Linked DNA regions of Homo sapiens: region 2 is linked to region 1. Evidence: promoter capture Hi-C in human tissues and cell types (Jung and others, 2019). All regions are on one chromosome and are shown on one strand. Each heading gives the region's core, a stretch centred on a gene start or on the middle of the fragment in contact. The rest is flanking DNA. Distances are from core to core; before and after follow the strand shown.

The links. The method cuts DNA at HindIII sites, captures the fragments that hold promoters and counts their contacts. A contact is called where the count stands out against the background at its distance.
Region 2: the fragment with the promoter of MIEN1 here is called in contact with a fragment that was not itself captured in region 1 in 2 of the 25 tissues and cell types used here (aorta and liver).

What each region holds. Positions count from the first base shown.
Region 1 is chr17:39,452,354-39,459,243 of GRCh38, forward strand. No RefSeq gene overlaps it. Among named protein-coding and RNA genes, the nearest start is that of MED1, 4.5 kb to the left of the region's middle. The HindIII fragment of the contact is 5,170 bases long and covers 674-5,843 here.
Region 2 is chr17:39,726,413-39,733,302 of GRCh38, forward strand. MIEN1 (migration and invasion enhancer 1) reads right to left here and starts at 4,120. Exons shown (of 4, transcript NM_032339.5): 1 at 3,995-4,120; 2 at 3,782-3,879; 3 at 3,273-3,349; 4 at 2,098-3,193. The coding sequence starts at 4,083. The coding sequence ends at 3,110. ERBB2 (erb-b2 receptor tyrosine kinase 2) reads left to right here. Exons shown (of 27, transcript NM_004448.4): 24 at 150-247; 25 at 403-591; 26 at 883-1,135; 27 at 1,277-2,246. The coding sequence ends at 1,632. MIR4728 (microRNA 4728) reads left to right here and starts at 83; the gene lies at 83-149. RefSeq lists an enhancer at 1-863 and a silencer at 3,802-4,361. The HindIII fragment of the contact is 5,525 bases long and covers 3,841-6,890 here.

The DNA.
Region 1 (6,890 bases), core at 2,009-4,508:
TTCTTCACTTAGTAAGCATCTGTGGAGTCCTAATATGTGTATATTTGGAGCTGCTAATACAAACATGAAAACACGGCTGGTCGCGGAGCTACTCAGGAGGCTGAAGCAGGAGAAGCGCTTGAACCTGGGAGGCAGAGGTTGCAGTGAGCCGAGATCATGCTACTGCACTCCAGCCTGGGTGGCAGAGCAAGACTCTGTCTCAGACAAATAAACAAACATGAAAACACAACCCTAGCGCTTGATAGGCTAATCTTATTTAGAGTTCCGAAAATATGATTGGTCACTATAATCATAGGGGCTCAAAATTTTTTCATTAATTATTATGCCCTAAGTACCAATGCCAGATACCCAACTACACTTTATCATGGAAACTCTATACAAATAAAAAAAAAAGTCTGTACTAAGTGTTGCTAGGAAATTTTTAACTTTATAAAGCTTATAAATAAACTTTACTAACTTCTGGTTACAGAATGGAATGAGAAGTTATCATTTGTCATCTGAAAATGCAGATGAGAGACACCATTGGAAAAGTTCTACTCTAGAAGATAAGAGAGCAATGTCCTTTGGGAGGCTGAGGCAGGTACTTGAGATCAGGAGGTCGAGACCAGCCTGGCCAAAATGGTGAAACCCCATTTCTACTAAAAATACAAAAAATTAGCCGGGTGTGGTGACACATGCCTGTAATCCCAGCTACTGGGGAGGCTGAGGCAGGAGAATCGCTTCAATCCGGGAAGTGGAGGTTGCAGTGAGCCAAGATCGTGTCATCGCACTCCAGTCTGGGCAATAAGAGCAAGACGGAGTCTGAAAAAAAAAAAGAAAGCCATGTCATTAAACAAGAAAAGTATTCAAGGTACATATAGGAACAGTATACATAGGAAAATGGGTACAATGGGCAAATTGTAAGTGACTAAGCTTTGAAGGAGGCGCCAAAGGACTCTTTTTTTTTTTTTTTTTTTTTTTTTTTTTTTGAGACAGTGTCTCGCTCTGTCGCCAAGGCTGGAGTGCAGTGGCACAATCTCGGCTCACTGCAACCCCCGCCTCCTGGGTTCAAGCAATTCTTCTGCCTCAGCCTCCCAAGTAGCTGGGACTACAGGTGTATGCCACACCACCCAGCTAATTTTTTTGTATTTTAGTAGAGACAGAGTTTCACTATGTTGCCCAGGCTGGTCTCGAACTTGAGCTCAGGCAATCCACCCACGTTGGCCTCCCAAAGTGTTACGATTACAGGCATGAGCCACTGTGCCCGGCCCAGAGGACTCTAAACCTAAAATCTAAACTAACAAATTGGTTTGTTGGGGAAAAAGAGCTATTGAAACTTTAGTTAAATATTTCTTCTTGTGTACAGCCTAAATGGAAACTTTCTGACTTGTTTTAGTAGATTTGCAGGCTAAGTATTGCCATCACCTGACTGATCACTTGGGGTTCACAGAGTTGCCCTGACTCTCTGCCCTTGAAGGTTATGCAAATAAAGCAAATGGAGCAGTCCTGGAATTTCTGAGTTCAAAGTTTTTCTGTATAATGAAGCAACCCTTATTTTACAAAAGCACAGATTGGATCAATACCTGCAGTTTACAGTAGATATTGTATTTTAAAATTTAGATACAGCCTGAGATTTTCTGCTGCAGAATTTTATTCACCAAAAAGAGGAATACCATGTTAGGGAGATTATCTAAAAGAAAGAGAGAGAGAGAAAGAAAGGAAAAGAAGGAAGGAAGGGAGGGAGGGAGGAAGGAAGGGTAGTTCAATACAAAGTACTGGTTTAGTATGTAGAAGTGAGGTGTCCCGGCTCCAGGCACTTTCTACACTTAAGTGTCAACATGGTCCAATCTAACTCCTTCTCAGTGTCAGTTTAACCTATATTAGATGTCGATAATAAGTGGCTCACGCCTATAATCCCAGCCCTTTGGGAGGCTGAGGTGGGTGGATCACTTAAGGTCAGGAGTTCGAGAACAGCCTAGCCAACATGGCCAAAGTCTGTCTCTACTAATAATACAAAATACAAAATAATACAAAAAAATTAGCCGGGCATGGTGGCGCATGCCTGTAATCCCAGCTATTTGGGAGGCTGAGGCAGGAGAATTGCTTGAACCTGGGAGGTGGAGGTTGCAGTGAGCCAAGATCCTGCCAGTGCACTCCAGCCTAGGCCACAGATTGAAACTGTTCTCAATAAGCATAATAATAATAATAGGCCTGGTGCGGTGTGGTGGCTCATGCCTGTAATCGTGCCACTGCACTCCAGCCTGGGCGACAGAGGGAGACTTAGTCTCAAAAAAAAAAATAAAAATAGTAATAAAAATAACATAATTTCATTAGTTTATTTATTCAATTGAAATTTATTGACGGGATTAAAAGAGTTCCGTGAAAAATTTTAAAGTGCTATAGAAATTCAAGATATTATAAGTTCAAAGTTTCAGGGATAAAGCTTCATTCTTTCATTAGTTACTGGTCTCTAATTGGCTTCAAGAGGCAGTAACAGATAATTTTGAAAGGTTCAGCCAGGTGCAGTGGCTCACGCCTGTAATACAAACACTTTGGGAGGCCGGGGCGAGCAGATCACGAGGTCAGGAGATCAAGACCATCCTGGCCAACACAGTGAAACCCGGTCTCTACTACAAATACAAAAAATTAGCCGGGCATGGTGGCAGGCACCCGTAATCCCAGCCATTTGGGAGGCTGAGATAGGAGAATGGTGTGAATCCGGGAGGCGGAGCTTGCAGTGAGCCGAGATCGAGGCGAAGCTTGCAGCGAGACGAGATCGCACCACTGCACTCCAACCTAGGTGACAGAGTGAGACTCCGTCTCAAAAAAAGAAAAAAAGTTTCTGCTGGTGTTTAATCTGGATAATCAATTTAATTCTTCCAGATTTTGACACATCACCGATGCCTTCTGTCGTCTTCACTTTTCCATTCTACTGTGGGTACATCGTGAATTAAAAACTTGATCTCAGCCAGGCACAGTGGCTTGCACCTGTAATCCCAGCACTTTGTGAGGCCAAGGCGGGGGGTGATCACAAGGTCAGGAGTTCAAGACCAGCCTGGCCAAGATGGTGAAACCACGTCTCTATTAAAAATTAAAAAAAAATCATCTGAACATGGTGGCAGGCGCCTGTAATCCCAGCTACTGAGAAGGCTGAGGCAGAGAATTGCTTGAACCTGGGAGGCGGAGGTTGCAGTGAGCCGAGATGAAGCCATTGCACTCCAGCCTAGGCAACAGAGGGAGACTCCATCCCAAAAAAAAGGCCAGGCATGGTGGCTCACACCTGTAATCCCAGCCCTTTGGGAGGCCAAGGCGGGTGGATCATGAGGTCAGGAGTTCAAGACCAGCCTGATCAACATGGTGAAACCCCGTCTCTACTAAACATACAAAAATTAGCCAGGCATGGTGGCGTGTGCCTGTAATCCCAGCTACTAAGAAGGCTGAGGCAGGAGGATCGCTTGAATCAGAGAGGCAGAGGTTGCAGTGAGCCAAGATAGTGCCACCGCACTCCAGCCTGGCAACGGAGCAAGACTCCATCTCAAAAAAAGAAATTAAAAATAAAAACCTGATCTCATTTAAAAGACAGAAAAATCAGGGTGAATTTTATTGAACTCATGACAACAAACCCATGCCAACACTTACTATGGCTGACTGGTCACTACATTTAATCAGCCCAGGAAGTCTCATGCCATCTGTCATCATGTAAAACATTCAAGGCCAGACACAGTGGCCCATGCCTGTATTCCGAGCATCTTGGGAGTCCAGGTGGGAGGATCCCTTGAGCCGAGGACTTCAAGAGCAGCCTGGGCAACATAGCAAGACCCCGTCTTTACAAAAAATAAAAAAAAAATTAGCCAGGCTCTGTGGCTTACACCTGTAATCCCAGCCAGGAGAGGCTGAGGCTGGAGGATTGCTTGAGCTCAGGAAGTGAAGATGGCAGTGTGTCAGCCGGACACAGTGGTTCACACCTGTAATCCCAGCCCTTTGGGAGGCCAAGGTGGGTGGATCACCTGAGGTCAGGAGTTCGAGACCAGCCTAGCCACATGGCGAAACCCCATCTCTACTAAAAATACAAAAATGAGCCGGGCATGGTGGCAGGCGCCTGTAATCCCAGCTACTCAGGAGGCTGAGGCAGGAGAATCACTTGAACCCAGGAGGTGGAGCTTGCACTGAGCCGAGATCGTGCCATTGCACTCCAGCCTGGGGGACAAGAGCGAGACTTCATCTCAAAAAAAAAAAAAAAAAGACTGCAGTGTGTCATGGTCATACCACTGTACTCCAGCCTGGGCAACAGAGCAAGACCTTGTCTCAAGAAAATAAATCCAGGTTGTCCTGGCAACACTGTACTCCAGCCTGGGCAGCACAGCAAGACCTTGTCTCAAGAAAATATATCCAGGGTGTCCTATCCTCCTATAGCGGTGAATAAGGAGTGTTCACAACTGAGTTCCAGTACTTGTGTTTTTCTTTTCTTTTCTTTTTTTTTTTTTTTTTTGGAGACAGTTTCACTCTTGTTGCCCAGGCTGAGTGCAATGGCACCATCTCATCTCACCGCAACCTCCACCTCCCGGGTTCAAGCAATTCTCCTGCCTCAGCCTCCCTAGTAGCTGAGATTACAGGCATGTGCCACCACGCTGGGCTAATTTTTGTATTTTTAGTAGAGACGGGGTTTCTTCTTGTTGGTCAGGCTGGTCTTGAACTCCTGACCTCAGGTGATCTGCTTGCCTCGGCCTCCCAAAGTACTGGGATTACAGGCGTGAGCCTCCATGCCTGGCCCGTGTTTTTCTTTTTTCTTTTCTTTTTTGAGGCAGGTTCTTGTTCTGTTACCCAGGCTGGAGTGCAGTGGCATGATCATGGCTCATTGCAGCCTTGACCTCCTGGGCTCAAGTGATCCTCCCATCTCAGCCTCATAGTAGCTGGGACTATAGGCAAGCAACACCATGCCTGGTTAATTTCTTGTTTTTGTTTGTTTGTTTTTGGTAGGGACGGAGTCTCGCTCTGTCGCCCAGGCTGGAGTGCAGTGGCGTGATCTTGGCTCACTGCAAGCTCTGCCTCCTGGGTTCAAGCAATTCTCCTGCCTCAGCCTCCCGAATAGCTGAGAATACAGGCCCACACCACTACGCCTGGCTAATTTTTTTTTTTTTTTTTGAGACAGAGTTTCTCTTTTGTTGCACAGGCTGGAGTGCGATGGCCCAATCTCGGCTCACTGCAACCTCCGCCTCCTGCGTTCAAGCGATTCTCCTGCCTCAGCCTCCCGAGTAGCTGGGATTACAAGCATGGGCCACCATGCCCAGCTAATTTTTTAGTATTTTTAATAGAGACGGGGTTTCTCCATGTTGGTCGGGCTGGTCTCGAACTCCCGACCTCAGGTGATCCGCCCGCCTCAGCCTCCCAAAGTGCTGGGATTACAGGCGTGAGCCACCAAGCCCGGCGGCTAATTTCTTTTGTATTTTAGTAGAGATGGGGTTTTACCGTGTTGCCCAGGCTGGTCTCAAACTCCTGAACTCAGGCAATTTGCCTGCCTCGGCCTCCCAAATTGCTGGGATTACAGGCATGAGCCACCTTGCTCGGCCTGTCATTTCTTGTATTTTTTTGTAGAGACAGATGTCTCAACATGTTGCCCAGGCTGGTCTCCAATTTCTGGGCTCACGAATTCCTTCCATGTTGGCCTTCCAAATTGTTGGTTTTACAGATGTCAGCCACCACACTCAGCCCTTTTTTCTTTTTGTTAGCCACTTTTTTTTTTTTTTAGATGGATTCTCACTCTGTTGCCCAGGTTGGAATGCAGTGGTGCAATCTTAGCTCACTGCAACCTCTGCCTCCCAGGTTCTAGTGATTCTCATGCCTCAGCCTCCTGAGTAGCTGGAATTACAGGCATATGCCACCATGCCTGGCTAATTTTTGTGTGTGTGTATATATAAATATATATATATTTTTTTGTTGTTTGTTTGTTTGTTTTTGAAACAGAGTCTTGCTCTGTCACCCAGGCTGGAGCGCAGTGGCACGATCTTGGCTCACTGCAACTTCTGCGTTCTGGGTTCAAGCGATTCTCCTGTCTCAACCTCCTGAATATCTGTGATTACAGGCGATCACCACCACGCCTGACTAATTTTTGTATTTTTAGTAGAGATAGGATTTCACTGTGTTGGCCAGGCTGGTCTTGAACTGCTGACCTCAAGTGGTCCTCCCACTTCGGCCTCCCAAAGTGCTGGGATTACAGGCATGAGCCACAGTGCTTGGCCTCTAATTTTTTTTTTTTTTGAGGCAGAGTCTTGCTCTGTTGCCCAGGCTGGAGTGCAGTAGCGTGATCTCCCCTCACTGCAATCTCTGCCTCCCAGTAGCGTGATCTCCCCTCACTGCAATCTCTGCCTCCCGGGTTCACACCATTCTCCTGCTTCAGCCTCCTGAGTAGCTGCGACTACAGGCACCCGCCACCACGCCCAGCTAATTTTTTTGTATTTTTAGTAGAGACGGGGTTTCACCGTGTTAGCCAGGATGGTCTCGATCTCCTGACCTCCTGATCTGCCCGCCTCGGCTCCCAAAGTGCTGGGGTTACAGGAGTGAGCCACTGCGCCCGGCCTATTTTTGTATTTTTAGTAGAAACAGGGTTTCACTGCATTGGCCAGGCTGGTCTTACTCCTGACCTCAAATGATCCTCCCCTCTTGGCCTCCCAAAGTGCTGGGATTACAGGCATGAGCCACTGCTCCCAGCCACTTCTTTTTTCTTGATAGCATTAATTTTACTTCCATAGAAGATCAAAAAGTTGTCGTGGAAAACTTGGTCTTTTTATTTTTTAAATTTTTTTATTATTTACTTATTTATTTTGAGACGGAGTCTTGCTCTGTTGCCAGGCTGGAGTGCAGTGGCGCGATCTCGGCTCGCTGCAACCTCTGCCTCCAGGGTTCAACCTCTGCCT
Region 2 (6,890 bases), core at 2,870-5,369, 270 kb after region 1:
CCCCAGAGTCTGGTGCTACTTCTCTACCACCTGAGGGCTTTGGGCTGTCCCTTGGGACTGTCTAGACCAGACTGGAGGGGGAGTGGGAGGGGAGAGGCAGCAAGCACACAGGGCCTGGGACTAGCATGCTGACCTCCCTCCTGCCCCAGGTTGGATGATTGACTCTGAATGTCGGCCAAGATTCCGGGAGTTGGTGTCTGAATTCTCCCGCATGGCCAGGGACCCCCAGCGCTTTGTGGTCATCCAGGTACTGGGCCTCTGTGCCCCATCCCTGCCTGTGGCTAAGAGCACCCTCCTGCAGAGGGTGGGAAGGAGAGATGAGTCCAGTATGCCAGGCCCCTCACGGAAGGCTGCATGCTGGGCTGGGGAGGGGCCACCATCCTGCCTCTCCTTCCTCCACAGAATGAGGACTTGGGCCCAGCCAGTCCCTTGGACAGCACCTTCTACCGCTCACTGCTGGAGGACGATGACATGGGGGACCTGGTGGATGCTGAGGAGTATCTGGTACCCCAGCAGGGCTTCTTCTGTCCAGACCCTGCCCCGGGCGCTGGGGGCATGGTCCACCACAGGCACCGCAGCTCATCTACCAGGGTCAGTGCCCTCGGTCACACTGTGTGGCTGTCTGCTTACCTCCCCCAACCCCGGTGGACTAGGGTCCCTTTCTCTGATGTTCCCTCAACTGTCACCTCTCAAGGAAACCCCATTATCCCTACAAAAAATTCTTACTGCCTTCCAACCCCTGTGACCCCATTCTCTCCACGGTGACTGTGTCATACCCCAAAGGTGACCTCTGTTTTTCTCCTGTGACCCTGTCACCTTCCATGGAGTCCCCATCCCAGATCCGTGAGTGACCCCCATCATGACTTTCTTTCTTGTCCCCAGAGTGGCGGTGGGGACCTGACACTAGGGCTGGAGCCCTCTGAAGAGGAGGCCCCCAGGTCTCCACTGGCACCCTCCGAAGGGGCTGGCTCCGATGTATTTGATGGTGACCTGGGAATGGGGGCAGCCAAGGGGCTGCAAAGCCTCCCCACACATGACCCCAGCCCTCTACAGCGGTACAGTGAGGACCCCACAGTACCCCTGCCCTCTGAGACTGATGGCTACGTTGCCCCCCTGACCTGCAGCCCCCAGCCTGGTATGGAGTCCAGTCTAAGCAGAGAGACTGATGGGCAGGGGAGGTGGGACCTTCAGCCCAGGGTCCACTGTGGGGGCAGAGGGAGTGGCAGAGACACCGGGGTTCCTTCCCCTAATGGGTCACCTTCTCTTGACCTTTCAGAATATGTGAACCAGCCAGATGTTCGGCCCCAGCCCCCTTCGCCCCGAGAGGGCCCTCTGCCTGCTGCCCGACCTGCTGGTGCCACTCTGGAAAGGCCCAAGACTCTCTCCCCAGGGAAGAATGGGGTCGTCAAAGACGTTTTTGCCTTTGGGGGTGCCGTGGAGAACCCCGAGTACTTGACACCCCAGGGAGGAGCTGCCCCTCAGCCCCACCCTCCTCCTGCCTTCAGCCCAGCCTTCGACAACCTCTATTACTGGGACCAGGACCCACCAGAGCGGGGGGCTCCACCCAGCACCTTCAAAGGGACACCTACGGCAGAGAACCCAGAGTACCTGGGTCTGGACGTGCCAGTGTGAACCAGAAGGCCAAGTCCGCAGAAGCCCTGATGTGTCCTCAGGGAGCAGGGAAGGCCTGACTTCTGCTGGCATCAAGAGGTGGGAGGGCCCTCCGACCACTTCCAGGGGAACCTGCCATGCCAGGAACCTGTCCTAAGGAACCTTCCTTCCTGCTTGAGTTCCCAGATGGCTGGAAGGGGTCCAGCCTCGTTGGAAGAGGAACAGCACTGGGGAGTCTTTGTGGATTCTGAGGCCCTGCCCAATGAGACTCTAGGGTCCAGTGGATGCCACAGCCCAGCTTGGCCCTTTCCTTCCAGATCCTGGGTACTGAAAGCCTTAGGGAAGCTGGCCTGAGAGGGGAAGCGGCCCTAAGGGAGTGTCTAAGAACAAAAGCGACCCATTCAGAGACTGTCCCTGAAACCTAGTACTGCCCCCCATGAGGAAGGAACAGCAATGGTGTCAGTATCCAGGCTTTGTACAGAGTGCTTTTCTGTTTAGTTTTTACTTTTTTTGTTTTGTTTTTTTAAAGATGAAATAAAGACCCAGGGGGAGAATGGGTGTTGTATGGGGAGGCAAGTGTGGGGGGTCCTTCTCCACACCCACTTTGTCCATTTGCAAATATATTTTGGAAAACAGCTAGGCACCGGCCTATGTCTGGGGGTGGCTCTGTGCCATCCCTTCCTGCTCACCTTACACTCAATTCCTCTTTTCCTGGAGGGAGTGGCTGGGAATCTTCAGAAAGCTTGGATGAGGAGCCAGACATCCAGTTCTCCAGCTTCAGGGTTGGGGGAGATCGGGAAGCTGGATTCAGATCTGAGAGCCCTTTGACGACCAGATCATTCTTATTTAGAACGAACTAATTCCTAAGGCCACTCACCAGAATGGGGTTATTTCCTCCTTGTGAGTGAGGAGAGTGGTGGGTAGGGTGGGGGAAAGACGAGGCAGGGTCTACTGTGGGACTCATTTTCCTTGCCTTGGCTATGCCAGAGGAGCTCACTGACCTAAGGAGTAGCTGTCCAGAAAGCCCACCCAGCCAGCACAGCCACCCTGGCGGTGCAAAGGCTGGGCTGACCGGACTTCTGTGCCCCCCACATTCCCAGACTGGACGTATAAAAACACACACTAGTTAGCATTAGTGTTTGTAGCGCCACTTTACTGCCAATAGCTGACATTGCCCTGGGTTAGGGGAGAATAAATAAAATCTGTGGCATCAGACAGGTATTACCGAGGCGAAGAGTGGACTGGGCTTTCGTGGGCACTTACCCTGGGAAGGGGGTATGAGGTGGCTGGAGAAGTGTTCATGGAGAGTGTCTCTCTCCTGCCCCCAAGGCCACGGAATCTTCTATTCCTTCTTTGTACCCAAAGGGCAAAGTGGAGGCCAGGGTCTCTTTGCTAAGGAGCTAAGTAGGGGAAAGAGGCAGGGGGAGCTCCCAGCAGGACCAAAGGGAGACCAAGGTTTGGACCCCAGAACAGAGCAGGAACCCAGAGTCCTGTGCAGTCACAGGATGACGCAGGGAGGACGGCTGTTGGTGATCTTTTCTAGGGTTTCTCCATTACTGGCTCTTCGGATGGCCTCAATGAGCTAGAGGAGTGGAATGACAGGATGATGCACTGTTGGGGTAGGGTGACCAAGAGGTCCTCCCAACGCTGTAAATACTCACATCTTTCTCATAGGGAAAGCCCCCATTCTCCAGCTTGGAGAACACCAGCTGTCCATTTATCTCTATCTCAAAGGCACCTGGTAAGAAATCAACAGATAAATGGTACACTGAGAACATAGGCAGAAGTCAGGAGTTCCTCCAAAGGGGTCCCCCGCCTTCAAGTCCCCCATCAATCCCACTGGAGACCCATTTGTAGCTCCTTAAGCAATTCCCCAACCCTGGGTCAACTCCAGGGAACCTGAGGGAGGCCTCGCCTGTGTGCCCCTCGCAACACTCAATAAAGGACTCCCTCCCCTCCAACCCTACACGATTGCAGTCTAATAGGTTTTTCCCCACAGGCCTCTGTGACACCCCCTGACCTATGGAAGGGAACTCATGTTGGCCGGACATTTTACCATGTGCCAGGCACTGCGGGCACTTTACATAAAGCAGCCAATGTCAGAACTAGAAAGCGGGAGAGCTGGGATTCAGAGCACAGACTGACCCAGCAGGTGTTCTGCGAGCCTCACCTGTGCCCCCGAGGCGCGACTCGATCTCGATGCCCGGATACTGCTCCTTCACAGCACTGGCCAGCTCCAGGTAGGTCGCCTCGAAGCCGCAGGGTTCACTGGGGAGTCAAGAGATGGGGCTGGGCTGGGGATTCGGGGGTGGGGCCTCCCGTGGACCCACCTCCGTCCGGCCCGCGGGACCAGGGTGCGGGTCCTCCAGCCGGGGCCGCTCACCAGTACTCCACCACGATGCGGACCCCACTGCCCGGCTCGACCTCCTCGGGAGGGGGCGCTACGGACGTCTGCCCCGGCTCCCCGCTCATCGCGGCCGGCTCCGCTCGGGCCCCTGCTTCCGGGTGTGACGCGAACCGCGGGCACGTGACGGGGCGGGGCCTCTGGAGCGGGGAGGGGCCGAGGGTGGCGTTCGGGCGCCCCCTGCGGGTCTCCGCCACTGCTACGTTTTGACCTCGTAGGGCAGCTCCGGAGCTCGCTCCCCGGGCAGGGGCTGGGTCCGGTCCAGACCCTCCTTCCCTGGCCCGGTCTCCCGGAGTGCCGGGCTTCCCCACTCCCCACTCCCGGTGTCCGCTGGACTTCATGGCTTCATTTACTCTAATGGACTATCTTAGACTGCAAAGCGCTTTTCAGTTTACAAAAGAAAGAGAAAGTGGTGGGGCAAGCATCCTGGGGATGGGGGTGGGTGTGGCTGATGCATGAAATAGTTGACATTTTCTCGCTAACATGCCGATGGCATTTTTTTTTTTTTTTTTTTTGAGACGGAGTTTCGCTCTTGTTGCCCAGGCTGGAGTGCAATGGCGCGATCTCGGTTCACTGCAACCTCTGCCTCCCGGGTTCAAGCGATTCTTCTGCCTCAGCTTCCCGAGTAGCTGGGACTACAGGCGCGTGCCACCGCACCCGGTTAATTTTGTATTCTTAGTAGAGACAGGGTTTCATCATGTTGGTCAGGCTGGTCTCGAACTCTTGACCTCAGGTGATCCACCAGCCTCGGCCTCCTAAAGTGCTGGAATTACAGACATGAGCCACCGCGCCTGGCCCAGTTTTTTGTTTGTTTGTTTGTTTGTTTTAGTAGAGACAGGGTTTCACCATGTTCGCCAGACTGGTCTCGAACTCCTGACCTCAAATGATCTGCCTGCCTTGGCCTCCCAAAGTGCTGGGATTACAGGCGTGAGCCACCACGCCCGGTGCTGATGGCATTTGGAACCACCCTGTAGTTACATACACAAGTGTTTCTGATCCCAAAGCTCTAAACTGCTTTTTCCAGTCTTTTGCAGCTGCTTCTTGCCTGCACTGGAAAACAGTAGATGCTCTTCAGGCTCTGTGCCCCCAACAGTTTCTGCGCATCCCTTCTCATCCAGCCTCTCACTGGGGGGCTGGCGTCATTATTCCCATTTTGCAGCTCTGGAAATGGAGTCTGCACAAGTCCTCGCTGCCTTTTCCCTGCCTACAGTACCACTATGGTATCCTAACACGCCACCCACTCTAGTGTCCCTTTAGGCTATTTATTTATTTATTTATTTATTTTGAGATGGAGTCTCACTCTGTCACCCAAGCTTGAGTGCAGTGGCGCGATCTTGGCTCACTGCAACCTCCACCTCCTGGGTTCAGGCGATTCTCCTGCCTCAGTCTCCCTAGTAGCTGAGATCATAGGTGCCAGCCACCACGCCCAGCTAACTTTTGTATTACTATTATTATTATTTTTTTGAGACAGAGTCTTGCTCTGTTGGCCAGGCTGGAGTGCAATGGTGCGATCTCGGCTTACTGCAACCTCTGCCTTCCGGCCTCAAGTGAGTCTCCTGTCTCAGCCTCCTGAGCAGCTGGGATTACAGGTGCCCACCACCAAGCCAGCTAATTTTTCTATTTTTAGTACAGATGGGGTTTCACCATGTTGGCCAGGCTGGTCTCGAACTCCTGAAGTTGTGATCTGCCCATCTTGGCCTCCCAAAGTGCTGGGATTACAGGTGTGAACCACTGCACCCGGGCTCATTTTTTTTTTTTTTAAACCAGGCAGGTCGTAGTGGCTCACACCTGTAATCCCAGCGTTTTGGGAGGCCAAGGTGGGCGGATCACTTGACGCCAGGAGTTCAAGACCAGCCTGGCCAACTCGACAAAACCCTGTCTCTACTAAAAATACAAAAATTAGCTGGGTGTGGTGGCGCACCAGCTACTCCAGAGGCTGAGGCAGGAGAATCGCTTGAACCTGGGAGGTGGAGGTTGCAGTGAGCTGAGATCTCACCACTGCACTCCAGCCTGGGTGACAGAGTGAGACTGTGTTCCAAAAAAAAAAGAAAAGAAAAGAAAAGAAAGAAAATGCAGTGATTTGTACTGTTGCCTAACCATCACTACAATCCAGTTACAGAATGTTTCCGTCAACCTGATAAGTCCTTCCCACCTGTTTCTGGTCAATCCAGCTCCCAATTCCAGTCCTGTGCAACCACTGATCTGCTTTCTGTCTCTAACTTTGCCTTTTCTGGATGTTTCATATAAACAGAATAATACACTATGTGGCCTTTTGCTTCTGGTTCTTTCATTCAATATGTTTTTTGAAATGCGTTCATCCTGTAGCGTCTAGAGTAGTTTGTTCCTTTTCATTGCTGAGTCGTATTCCACTGTGTGGTTATGCCACATTTTTTTCTTAATTCACCAGCTGATGGATATTTAGGGTTCCAGTTTTTTTTGTCTTTTTTGAATAATGCTGCTACAAATGTTTAGGTGTCTTTGTATAGGTGTGTGTTTTCATTTCTCTTGGGTAGATTCCTAAGGGTAGAACTGCTGGGTCCTGTGTTTAATTTATGATTATCTTTTTTTTTTTTGAGACAGGGTCTCGCTCTGTTGCCCACGCTGGAATGCAGCAGTGCAAACATGGCTCACTGCAGCCTCGACCTGCTAAACTCAAGCTATCCTCTTGCCTCAGCCTCCTGAATAGCTGGGACGACAGACACGCACCACCATGCCCAGCTAATTTTTTTTTGTATTTTTTGTAGAGACAAGGTTTTGCCATTTTGCCCAGGCTAGCATTTAACATTTTAAGAAATGGCCAGACTGTTTTTCAAAGTTTTCCCACCAGCAATATATGAGGATTTGTCTCTCCATATCCTCACCAATACTTGTTTTC